Regions from separate parts of the Homo sapiens genome. Here regions 1 and 2 are each linked to region 3. The links are contacts of gene promoters, found by promoter capture Hi-C in human tissues and cell types (Jung and others, 2019). All regions are on one chromosome and are shown on one strand. The core of a region is centred on a gene start or on the middle of the fragment in contact, and the rest is flanking DNA. Distances in the headings are between cores, read along the strand shown.

The links. The method cuts DNA at HindIII sites, captures the fragments that hold promoters and counts their contacts. A contact is called where the count stands out against the background at its distance.
Region 1: a fragment that was not itself captured here is called in contact with the fragment with the promoter of HS3ST5 in region 3 in 1 of the 25 tissues and cell types used here (hippocampus).
Region 2: a fragment that was not itself captured here is called in contact with the fragment with the promoter of HS3ST5 in region 3 in 1 of the 25 tissues and cell types used here (mesendoderm cells).

Annotation. Positions count from the first base shown.
Region 1 is chr6:114,150,467-114,154,880 of GRCh38, forward strand. The region is part of intron 3 of HS3ST5 (heparan sulfate-glucosamine 3-sulfotransferase 5); the gene reads right to left. All of the region lies in intron 6 of HDAC2-AS2 (HDAC2 and HS3ST5 antisense RNA 2), which reads left to right. Among named protein-coding and RNA genes, the nearest start is that of HDAC2, 180 kb to the left of the region's middle. The HindIII fragment of the contact is 4,615 bases long and covers 1-3,846 here.
Region 2 is chr6:114,510,054-114,514,171 of GRCh38, forward strand. All of the region lies in intron 2 of LNCPOIR (lncRNA periodontal mesenchymal stem cell osteogenesis related), which reads right to left. Among named protein-coding and RNA genes, the nearest start is that of LNCPOIR, 33 kb to the right of the region's middle. The HindIII fragment of the contact is 3,293 bases long and covers 1-3,252 here.
Region 3 is chr6:114,341,110-114,345,693 of GRCh38, forward strand. It overlaps HS3ST5 (heparan sulfate-glucosamine 3-sulfotransferase 5), which reads right to left and starts at 1,914. Exons shown (of 5, transcript NM_153612.4): 1 at 1,086-1,914. LOC107986638 (a long non-coding RNA gene) reads left to right here and starts at 1,216. Exons shown (of 8, transcript XR_002956366.2): 1 at 1,216-1,280. The HindIII fragment of the contact is 10,455 bases long and covers 1-4,584 here.

The DNA of each region.
Region 1 (4,414 bases), core at 289-2,788, 190 kb before region 3:
TTACTTCATATATGAGAAATAGTACAAGTGCCCTTTACAGAGAAGAGAATCTGGGGAAAGCTGCTTCAATTAGACCTTTATATGAAGGACTGGAGGTGAAAGCCCTATGTCATTTTCATTCAAGAGAGGTTTTATGAAGAATATGGGGTTTCACAAGCTGTCTGGGTGTGATGGGAGAAGGAAAGGAGGATTTGCATTCTATAGCATACATGCAATATTTTTTAAAAAAGATTCAGAGAAGGAGTTAATGCCTGAGTGTAGGAGATGTATTCAGCAATTATAATAAAATCCTGAAAGAAAGCCTTATCATTTGTACTCATATTTATTTATTCACTGCAAGCATGAAAAGAAACCCCAGAAGGAATCGTCAAATTGTCTTATGTGAATTACATTGGAAAACGTGTGTTTTGGACATTTTCAAAGCTCAAACTATTTTGCTTGTTCTTGAAAGTGGGAATTCTAGTGCAACTAGAAAGATAAACATCCTTAATATCCTTTCACCTTGCATTTTTACTGCTTTTTTTAAAGCATGAATAAAAAACCAGAAAGCACATATTCGCTTGCCCCTGTACATTTTAAATGACTGTTTTACAAGTCATTCAAAAGATGGCTGACTCTGATAGAATGAAGCACTCAAAAATGTTGATGCTGAGGCAAAGGAATGACCCATGCCTTACAAATTAATCATGTTGAGTTAGGATTTTTTGGTATTGTTTATTTGTCCCAGCATTATCTGACCCACAAAATAGCTATCCGACACCACGTAATAAAAATCCTTTTTTATAATGGGGTTCTACTTAGAGATCAAATGTCAGTGTTCTTTGATCTTTGTTGCTAAGATGTTCTCATTATATGGAACAGAATTCAGCAGGTGTTTGATTATTTATCCAGCAAAGGGGAAGGTGAGCTGGGATTAAATTGTTATGGCATAGCTTTGTTTTAGGCCCGCTGACTCTTGCTGAATTTGGAATAATTGTGTTGCTGCATAGCAATCTTGCTAAGTACAATAGGACACTGAAAAGCTTGGCTCAGAAACTAATGGTCTGCAGCTACCATCTGTGGGATTGAAACTAAATGCCTCTAAAAGAAATACTCATAAATGTAACTAGCCATCTTGTTGATTAGCTTTCTGGTAAATGGGATTCCAGTTGCCTAAATGAACCAGTGCAACCTCTCTCTGGAAGCCAATAGATGGACAACCACTTGCTTCTGAGTTAGCAGTTGCCCAATAAATTCCAATATATTTAAAGCTCCTTTGAAAGAAGACACTCCCAAATTATGTAAAATGTAGAAAATTATATCAACACTTCACAAGCTATAAATTAAAATAGAAAAATATAAATTCCTGTGCCAGTGTTTTCAAGGTCATTATTTTTCAATTCAATACATTCAGCTATGCTCTTATTGCCTATTCTTTGTGGCTAGGTTAATTATATGGTGACAATTTCAAAATTATGTTTATTTTATTTTATTTTTTTTAATTTTTGAGACGGAGGGTCTGTCGCCTAGGCTGGAGTACGGTGGCGTGATCTCGGTTCACTGCAAACTCTGCCTCCCGGCTTCAAGCGATTCTTTTGCCTCAGCCTCCTGGGTAGCTGGGACTACAGGCGCGTGCCACCATGCCCGGCGAATTTTTTAGTAGAGACGGGGTTTCATCTTGTTAGCCAGGATGGTCTCGAACTCCTGACCTCGTGATCGACGCACTTCGGCCTCCCAAAGTGCTGGGATTAAAGCCATGAGCCACCGTGCCAGGCCATAAATTTATGTTTCTTATGCAAAATAAATTTCAGTTTCTATTCTCAATATTAGCATGCATTTTCTATTTTTAAAGAAAAAGAATTATTCCTTGCAAATTCACACTTCTTTGTTTCAGTGTACACATCTATGCTGCACATACCACTCTGATAATCCATTAACTGTTAACACTCCTACCTTCTTAACTTTTTACATTTTTCACTCCAGAAATTTAAGCTTTTGAGGATATCATTTCCTGCTGAAATCCAGTTAGAGGAGAAATTTTAGGTAATTAGAAATAATTCTGTTACTACCTGAGCTAAGCAGAAACTGGTTTTTATAAAGAAGGAGGAGTGTGAAAGCTCCCGGCAACTCTACAGATTTGCTTTTCTCATCTTTCTTCTCAGAATTTCATCTTACAGCTCAGGAAAGTCGAGGCTAAAGTGGATTTTGCTGAGAGTTTGTCAAGTTAGAGGGGCCAGCGCTGGCTCAGTTCTCCGCCTGGACACATTTTCTCTTCCTGTGGTCCAACCTCCCAGTGTAAGTGCGATCCCAAGTGGCCTGCCCCTTGAGCAGTCAGGCCCTGTCTCTACTGCGAGGGATGTAAAAGTTCAGCACCCATGAAGCCTTTGCTGCTAGAGGCTTTGGCCTGTGCTTTGAGCTGTGATTCCAAATCTTCCTTATCTTGAATGATTGGCTCCCAGTTTTGTTAACTGAATCTGCCTGGGGATCTGCCTAATAATTTTCATGCTCTTTATTTTGCTTTGGGCTAGTCCTAGTCTTTCTCTCAGCCCTCACACCCCTCTTGACTCTACAAGGAGTTGAAGTCTTGCCACTGATCCCCACCCAATGGTTGAGACTTTACCTATCAGCTTGAATATTCCCAGTTGCAGTATTTAACTTGTTCACTGAAACACCCTTTTACTGCCTGATGCCCACGGTACTGTTAATGGGGGCAGAGCTGCCGTTTGGATCCTGGGCTCTGTCTCCTGGTTTAGACTTCCTCACAGTACCAACAGCTGGGATATCTCCTTTTGTATGTTCCATGCTGGTGCGGGAGTGCCAGGTCCTAAACCCAGGTCAGCCCTGCTCCAGGATAGCTAATTGAATAATGTCCAGTAATCCCCATTAAATAACAATAGGTATAGGTGGAAATATTTACATGTTCTATTGGGATTTCGTTATATTTCCTAATTTTATAAGTGGCCTGTTTCTATATTTGCACTGATCCACTCCTTTTTCCCACCTACCTGCTGAAAAATCATATCCTCTCTCCATGGCAATATTTGCTTCATGCTCATCTTCGTATTCATTTTCTCAATGGGGCAGACTCCCGTTGCACCATATTGGTGGAGAGATGAAATTTCTGTCCTGGATTATCATATTCTGTCTTATCTCATTCATTTGCTCTTCTGTGCTCAGTGAGGTATGATAGAAGTGGCAGTGTGGTGAAACTAGGAGGCCAGTAAAAAACGTAAGTAATTTTCACCTTGGTTTTTTCTGTTTCAAGTTCCTGGGGCCCTCTTTTCTCCTCTCTTTTCCTCTGATGAGATCAAGGACTCAGTGGTGTCAGCTATAGTCACCTTATTAATAACTACTATCTTAGTACTCACAACAATCCTGCAGGCTGGGCATGGTGAGGCCCATTTTGCAGATGAGGAAACTAAGATGCAGAAAGGTCAAGATTATTTTGCTTTTAGCTCTTCGCTGTTCACGTCCCTTCAACTGCACAGTGGTGAGCAGGGAAGGGTTATCAAGGGGGCTCAGGGGGACTGAATGTGCACAGGAGCAGGAGAGGGTTTCGTGGGGAGCAGAGAGGATCACAGGAAGTTTTAGTTCCTGGGTCTCAGACAAGTGGGCAGAAGCAAAGGCAAATCCAGATGCTGAAGGTTTGGCTCTTGGGACTGCAGTCTATTAACGAAGGAGAGGTAAGAAGGGAAAGGAGATGTCTGAGTATTCAAGGTTATGTCTGGAATGGTTCATTTCTTGGCCAGCTCTGACTTTTTGCAGTGTGACTAGAGAAGTCTGTGATCAATTATTGCTGCCTGCCTCAGTGGGAAGGCGAGGTGAGTGAAAGCATGCTTATTTTCTGATCCTGCTCAATATTCCAGCTGGCACTATTTAGAGCTGAAAAGGGAACCCAAAAGAGAAGCAAGGTGGTAAAATTTGGATTGAGACTGAGTGTGGTGGCTCACACCTGTAATCCCAGCACTTTGGAAGGCTGAGGCAGGCAAGTTGCTTTAGCCCAGGGGTTTGAAACCAACCTGGGCAACATAGCAAGACTCCATGTCTGTTGTTTTTGAAATCAGTTTAAAAAAAAGACTTAGATTAGATGTATCAAAACAATATTCATTGTAACTGTGACATATTTGAATAAATCCTTGAGGGGCTTGTACCAGCCTGTACAAGTCAGACTACTGCACCCCATCACATCTTATTTAGTCTCTTGCCATTCTCCCTTCCCCTCACCCACTTCATCTGCTTACTTTGCTTGGGGGAAGGCAGGAGGAGGGGCACATAAACATGTAGCAAGTTCCTGCCTCTGGCATTTTCTGGTCATGTTGCTCCTTCCTGGGATGTGCTTCACGCAGATGTGGGCAGGGTTTGCTTCCTGTGGCCTTTGTCAAATGTCATCTCACTGATAAGTCTTCCCTGACTGCCATACATAAGAAGGCAGCCT
Region 2 (4,118 bases), core at 356-2,855, 170 kb after region 3:
CTTCTTATATTCTATATACTAGTCCTTTGCTAGATATGTGGATTACAAATATGTTATCCCAGTCTGTAACTTGTAAATGAAACAAAAAGCTGATTCTTTGAAAAGATAAATGAAATTGATACACCATTAGCAAGATTAACCAAGAAAAGAAGAGAGAAAACCTAATTTAGAAACAAAACAGGAGATATTGCAACTGACACTACTGAAATACAAAAGATCATTCAAAGCTACTATGAACAACTTTATGCATATAAACTAGAAGAAATGAATAAATTCCTGGAAAAATACAACCCTCCTAGCTTACATCACGAAGAATTAGATACCCTGAACAGACCAATAACAAGCAGCGAAATTGAAATGGTAATTTAAAAATTACCAACAAAAAAAGTCCAGGACTAGATGGATTCATAACAGAATTCTACTAGACATTCAAAGAATTGGTACCAATGCTTTTGACACTATTCCACAAGATAGAGAAAGAAAGACCCCTCCCTACTTCATTCGTTGAATCCAGCATCACCCTAATACCAAAACTAGGAAAGGACATAACCAAAAAGAGAATTACAGACTCATATCCCTGATGAACATAGATGCTAAAATCCGTAACAAGATACTAGGTAACTGAATACAACAACATATCAAAATGATAATCTGCCATGATCAAGTGTGTTTCATACCAGGGATGCAGGGATGGTTTAACATATGCAAGTCAATAAATGTGATACACTGCATAAACAGAATTAAAAACAAAAATCACATGATCATCTCAATAGATTCAGAAAAAGCATTTGACAAAATCCAGTATCGCTTTATGATTAAAACTCTAAGCAAAATTGGCCTACAAGGGACATACCTTAATGTAATAAAAGCCATCTATGACAAACCCACAGCTAACATAATCCTGAATGGGGAAAAGTTGAAAGCATTCCCTCTGAGAACTGGAACAAAACAAGGATGTCCACTCTCACCACTCCTCTTCAACATAGTACTGGAAGTCCTAGCCAGAGCAATCAGACAAGAGAAAGAAATAAAGGTCATCCAAATCGGTAAAGAGGAAGTCAAACTGTCAGTGTTTGCTGATGATAGGACTGTTTACTTTGAAAACCCTTAGGACTCCTCCAGAAAGCTCCTAGAACTGATAAAAGAATTCAGCAAGGTTTCTGGATACAAGATTAATGTACGCAAATCAGCAGCTCTTCTATACACCGACAGCGACCAAGCAGAGAATCAAATAAAGAACGCAACCCTTTTACAATAGCTGCAAAAAAAAAAAAAAAAAACCTTAGGAATATACCTAACAAAGGAGTTGAAAGACCTCTACAAGGAAAACTACAAAACACTGCTGAAAGAAATCACAGATGACACAAACAAATGCAAACACATCCCATGCTCATGGATGGTTAGAATCAATATTGTAAAAATGACCATACTGCCAAAAGTGATCTACAAATTCAATGCAATCCCCTTCAAAATACCACCATCATTCTTCACAGAATTAGAAAAAACAATTCTAAAATTCATACGGAACCAAAAGAGAGCCTGCCTAGCTAAAGCAAGACTGAGCAAAAAGAACAAATCTAGAGGCATCACACTACCAGATTTCAAACTATACTATAAAGGCCACAGTCACCAAAACAGTATGGTACTGATATAAAAATAGGTAATAGACCAATGGAACAGAATAGAGAACCGAGAAGTAAACCCAAATACTTACCACCAACTGATCTTTGACAAAGCAAACAAAAACATAAAGTGGGGAAAAGACACCCTTGTCAACAAATGAGGCTATCCCACTTTCAATGTCACCTTCCTGCACTTTGCAATGTTTAGGAGGTCAATAATGCCACCTGTTGCTAACTAGCTGTTAACTCACTTCTCTCTGACAAGGGGACAGAGAAAACATATATGCTCAGCCATTTGAGAAATATTTCTTTAAAACTATTTCCTCCCTAGTCTGCCAGCATAAAAATTGATCTGCTGATGTTTTCTTTATAACTCTTCATAATTTTTATCATTTTCTTTATTTTATAATTTTAAATTTCTCTAATTTGTGTGTCAAACTCTATGATAATAATAACAATAATGATTACTTATTAACTGCTTACCTTGCACCAAATACGTTATATAATGTATCTCTAGTCCTCACAATTGTTTTTGCATCTTATATTTTATTATATCCATTTTACATATGAGAAAACTGAGGCTCAGAAATCTTTTTCATCTCAGTGCTTTTACTTTTTCCACTAAGACTTTTGTCTTCTCTACAGACTTTCTCTAAATTAGGCTACTGCTATTATACTAAAACATGATAATCTGCCACAATTTTAAAATATTTTTAAAATTTTCAGGTTCTTTCCACAAGTACTTTGCCTCTGAATGTCTTGAATTTATTAAATTTATTTTCTTCTACTTATACTTATTCTCTACTCCTTGAACATGTAGAAACAATTCTGTTCTCATTTTTTTCTTTATGGTTCTGTAAGATTTAGAATTTGCCATTCTTGTGCCTGTCATTTTAACAGCTTTCCTGTCACTTAAGTTAAAAAAAATACCAAAGTGTTCAAAGGAAATTAAAACTATTCAGCCTTCATAATTTAATAGATTCATTCTCTGAGTGAAAGGTGAAAGTGAAGGATTCTCATAATTCTATTTATTTGGTTGCTCTTCTAGTTATGTTTGCAAGTAACTCCTTGGACCTTTCTTATTGGAAACTTTATTTTCTTACATTATGTTTCAAAATAATGTGCTAGTTTGATGAATTATAAATAATATTCTGCCAAAAGAATTTTTGTAGAACATATCCACAATCCTGTCTAAATATATAAGTATATACATATTAGAATTTGACATAGACATGATTTTAGATCTGACGATTTTTTATAAGAAAATTTAATCTTTAACCTAAGGTTTTACATAGGTATTTAAAAATAAAAGGAGTACTTTTCCATGCTGTCAACATAGTTAACTATAAATCAATCTGCAGAATTTTAACAGCAAATAAAACCCACTTCATGCCTCTTAGCAACATTCTCTGCATGCAAATGTAATTGTTTGTTGTCCGGTGACTTCTATCACCCTTGCTTGAATGCCTTTAAAATATGATGTCCTTGCTTTTCCCTCTTTGTTTTACCGACAACCTTAATATTCTGGCTTTTACTAATTTTCTATATAAAGATTTTACCCCAGATGAACTCACTGTTTCCACAAAGCTTTCTCTCACCTTCCTCCTCACCCTTGCTTTCATTATTCTATCCACATGGATAGAATATTTCTTTCTTCACCACAATCTTTCTAAGCTTAGCCAGTATTTAACATTGAGACTAAAACGTGTCTCCTCAGAAAGTCTTTTTGATCATCCTCCCTCCAATGTCCATTCATCTGTCCTTCTGACCATCCATTCCATCCATCCATCCATCCATTTATTTATCTAATAACACCACACATATTCATGGAACCTTGGACATTGTGGTAGACTATTAGTTATAAAGACATAAATCAGATAAAGTGTGAATATGAGCACAATTTGTCTTAAGAGAATTGGAGAAAGGCCACTTGAAGGATACAGTTTGACAGCTGGAAAAGTGTAAATAGAACATTTGTGACAGAGGCAACATATTGTACAAAGTTGTGGATAGAGGTGACAGAAAGTAACTTCCATTTGGGATCTACATGAGAGTCAGTGTTATTAGAGCATGAAGTGCAATTGGAAAGAGGTGGGAAACAAGGCTGAACAAATCATGAACATGGTATACCTTTCTTAGGAATTTGAGACTTTGTGATAAAATTGTTGAGAGTCATTTACATTTTTAAAATAGGGACTGGTGTAGCCATATTTACTTTCACAAAGATAAGTCTAAACAATACTGTTGAGAATAAATTGAAGCATGAGGGTAACATTAAAGATGAGGAGACCAATAAGCCTACTGCAAGAGTATGAGCAAGAAAAAGGACGTCGCATTAGAAACTGCCAGTCAGGAGGAAGAAGAAAAGCCTATTTGAACATAAATAGAATCTGTAACTAGATGACGGTAAGGGAGAAAAAGAAGCAGATATGAGAACTAGCATGTACAGTTCTTGAAAAATTGGGTGGATAGTGGTACCTTCTGACAAACTGTGAA
Region 3 (4,584 bases), core at 664-3,163:
TAAGAAGAAACTGGTATTCGTATTCGGAGACAGAGAGGAGAGGGGGAGAGAGGGGAGGGAGGGAGGGAGAGGGAGAGGGAGAGGGAGAGGGAGAGGGAATAGGGAGAGAGGGGGAGAGAGAGAGAGAGAGAGAGAGAGAGAGAGAGAGAGAGTGAGTCCCACCGGGTGAAGACAGGGTAGACCACGAATGTGAGCATCAGCTCCCTTGGGTGGGTGCCCTGAAGCACTGAAGTAGGGAAGCGGAAGAGTAGAGGAAACCCACCAAGGTGAAGTGACTCCGGAGTTGTTTGTTTGCTGGGCGCTTGGAACCTCCAGGTAAAGACATCCACCTTAAGCTGGACGCTCCTTGCAGGTTGCCCTAAACCAAGGTGGTCGCCCAAGTAACAGGAGCAGGAGTCTCAGCGCTCCAGTGAGTAGCGACAGCGACCTCTCAGACTTGTTTGTAGTAACAGTATGACCACCCTTCGACTGCATCCATCCCGCGCGCGCGCGCGCGTGTGTGTTGGGTGGGAAGAGATGCATAAAGTGGGGCTGTGAGGGGTGTGGGGGGGGCCAGCTGGGAAGAGAAAACCCCACCCACATGTTAACTTAGCCTTTGCCTGTTCTTTGCCTGCCCTCTGCCTGTCCTCTGCTGGGGCCTCGCAGGCCCCCACTGTCCCAAAGCTGCCCTCGCGCTCCAAACAGCTCCACAGCCACCCCAGAAGTGACCGAACGCGAACCCCTAAACTCTGGCGAGCGCAGTAAACGCGTGTTCCCTTTCTCCCTCAAAGAGAGCGCTACCCAGCGCTCTGGGAGAGACTGAGAGAGAAACAGACAGGCAGGCTGACTGACACCTTCTGTCTAATTTTACCCCAGGAATTGCCCCCGCCGTTTCTCATCTCGCACTAGTTTAACCTCTGGTCCTAAGCAAACCTCTCAAAAGTCTTCCCCAGGCAGCGCCCAGGAGAACCGAACCCCACAAAGTGCTTTTTTGCTGGCATCACCCGGATGCTTCCCTTTGGCGATTTGCCCCTTCTCATTTCCCCCCAAATCTAGAGGTCTCAAAGCCCCTCCCCCGCGCGAGGCGGGCAGCGCGCCTTGCTCACCGTGGTCCCCGGCGGTGGCGGCGCGGGCGGGAGCCTCAGGGCGCGGGGGTCGGCGGCGGGTCGCGTGGGGGTCACCCGGCCGCTGCTGCGGTCCGGACGGCAGTTGGTCCAGTAGTTTCGGATGCCCGGGCTAGGCTCGGCGGAGAGCGAGTCGGCGTGAATGAGAGCAAACCAACAGGGCTGTGCGTGGCGCGTGTGAGTAAGACGCGAGCGGGCCCCACACGCAGGCGGCGGCGGCGGCGGCGGCGGCGGCGAGGTCTGAGGCGGGGAGCCGGGCGGGGGGGCAGGCGGGCGAGAAGTAGTGGAGTTTAGGGCGCGTTTCCTGCACTTCCCCGAGAGGCTGGAACCAGGTGCGGCAGGGCGCGCTCCCGTGGCGCGGGCACGGCACGGGCGGCCGCAGGAGCCGGAGTCCGCGCAGTGCCGGAGACCGCAGCCGCTCTGCGGGGGGAGGTGCGCATCCTCCTTGCCCCACGAGGGCACCGGCGCAGCCCCGGACCCTGCGCGCAGAGGGCGAGACTTCGGGCGTCCTCGGTGACAGCTCCTCGGGCAGCCCGCTCCCTCCCAATCCGCCCAAAAGAGCAACACTCAGTGTGACTGGGATCTTCCCTTCCTGCGTCCTCGAGCCTCCGGTGCCAAGCTGTGCGGGCGCCCCGCTCCCCGCGGCTGGCGCTGTCACGGCCGCCGCCCGGCCCCCAGAGCGCCCGAGCCGGCAGCTGCCTCCCGGAGACGTGCCCAGCTGTGTGCGCGTGTGTGTGTCTAAGCGAATCTCTTCCCCTCCATCACTTGGGCGCGCAGGAGGGACCGGGTCCCTGGCGACCAGCTGCAGAGTGGCTGCCAGTCCACACCCTCCCGGCTCTCTCCCCACCCACCCCGCCCCTACTCCTCCTCGCCTTCCCCTCCTCCCCGTGCTCCTCCTCCAGCTGCCGCTCCCGAGCTCCCAAAGGCAGCGGAGAAACCGCAGCGAAAGGGAGGAGGAGGAGGGTGGGGAAGGAAGCGCAGGTGTCTTCGGCGGAGAGACGGGCGCACGCACCGGAGCGGCTTGCTGCAGGGGGAGGGCAGGGCCTTAGGCGGAGAAAGGGGAGGAGGAGGATTTACCCGGAGGCGGAGGTCCCGCAGCTGAGCCACTGCGCGTCCCACCCAGGCGCTGGAACCGCGGGCGAGCAGCGCAGTGGGGCTGCCGGGTGGGCGCGCAGGGCTCCCAGTTGGACTGAGGTCGCAGCTTGGGGAACCTGCGGAGGTGACCAGGGTGGCAGAACTCGGGGACACAGAGGTCGGAGGGACCCAATTGCTGAGGCGCTGAGACCGGTCTCTCTGGGGTGAGGGGGATGCCTAGACCCAGAGCTTGGGGCACACAGGTGTCCAGGAAGCTGGTGTGTGTGGCTCCAGAGTGCCAGGCGGGAGAGCCGGAGGCGGTGAAGGGTCGGGCGGCGGCCGCGGCGTGCTTGGGGCTGCTGTGTGCATCCGGAGTCACAGGGGGCGATCACCGCCTAGCTGGGAAGCGGAGCTCAGGACTCAGCCTTCTTTCAGGTCCCAAGTCCAAAAGCCGAGAGGCACACTAGCCTTCCCAATTTAGTCTGTGTTCCTCCAACCCTTTGCCCCCAGCAAAACAACAGGCCAGGAGCTGATTCTACCTGCTACTTACTGTGCTCTTTACCGGACTGAAAGGACTCTACTGCTCCAAGGAGACTGATGTGTTGCTTCCTCTCTCCCAACTCTAGTCCCCTCCCTCAACATACATTCCTACCCAACCAAAATTATCCAGAACATTGTATTTCTCATTGATAAACTTTTTCCCTCTGGGGTTCCCTAAAAATGAAAATCTTTCCTCCCTTTTTATCTGTAGAGGCATTAAGTCTCTTGCTTACATTTCATAGTACAAATGCAGTACACAGAAAAGTCCTTTAGGCAAGAAATCACAGCATTATTGCTTATGACGGCTTGTCTGTTTTCAAATGACAGTCGCAGAATGCAAATTTGTGTCAACCTGAGGTCAGTGGAGAGAGTTGGTCCATTTAATTAGAGGTATTTTGGAAGGAATCTGGGAAACAACACTAGAAAGAATTGCTGTACTTTCTCCAGTACCCATTCCTTTTTATTATGGTAATTTCACTCTGTTAATTTAGGCAATCTGAAAATGAAAGGTCGGATGCAATTTACAAGGCACAATATTTCTAGATTCTCATTCAACAGCCCGCCCCACCTCCTTCCTCCCACCACTCTTACCATCACCTCAAAAGGTCATGAGCTAAGAACCGAAACTGCACTTTTTAAATCTCAGGATATAGCCTGAATGACAAAGCTGTTGAGTTTTAGAAAGAGACCAGTTAAGTCTAAACTTATTTACCAACTACTCAGACAAAATCATATGCTCAGCAGCAACAATAAAATGTATACTGTGTAATATATTGAGCAGGAGGAAAGATGGCTGTTTGCCAGATATGTGATCCATTAACCTCTTTAGCTCATTGTTGGCAACAATAGCATACAATCACATTCCTATGTTTGAAAGACAAGAGATTTTTTTTTCCCATCTTAAAATCACAATGCCACATTATAGTCTAAAAGAAACCTCAAACAATAAAAGTAATAAGAAAGGAAGAAACATGGTTTGTTTTTTTTCTGAACAAATGTTGCTGTTCTGTTTTTTTTTCTTGAGGGGAAAAATGCTGATAAGCAATAAAGTCCACAAAAGCATGACAATAGATTTTGAAGAATGCATCACTCCATCTATTAGTCCTTTCAATTAGTAAACTTTATTTAAAAGGTTTATTTATATTATCTTTTGATTGGTATTCAGTCTTTCTTTTGTGCCTGGAAGATGACTGAGAAGGAGGATGGGTGAGCTGAATCTGGTTTCTCATAATTCTGTCTTGCATCAGGTTTATGTCTGGCAGGAGAGGAATGCTCAGCAGCCTGTGCTTTCTCAGCAATCCTAACTTCTCCTCAGAGGATCCTTTGCTCTGTAGCTGATGGATTGTGAGATTGTCACAGTAATTTTGCCTACCTGCTACAGGGTCACACCTGGGGTTGGGAGCAGGTACGGTTCCAAAAACTGGGATGCAATGCTCTGGAAAGAGCTTTTACCTTGCCCAGGGTTGGAGGATTAGATGAAGGTGCATGAGCTTTTTTGTGTTGCTTTTCAACTTCTACAGATGACCTGGATTTTCTGCTAGGTGAAGTGTGGAGGTGGGTGGGTGTGGTCTAACATTTTAAGAAACATTTTGGTATTGTGGTAAATTAAACAAATAAAACTAAACACTAGACATAATGGTACACCCAAAAAATCTATTTGAAATACAGTTTTGAAAACAGTCACAGATTTATTGGTTTAGCTTAGTCATCTATGCCAAATAAAGTACACAGCAATGAAAACATTTGGTTAATTAGAGTGTTCATTTGGTAAAGAATATATTTTTTTTCCTGAACATCAGCATACTCTCTTGTCTCATAAAGATGTAACCATTAAATATTATTTGGGCCAGTGATGCTAGCTTATGTC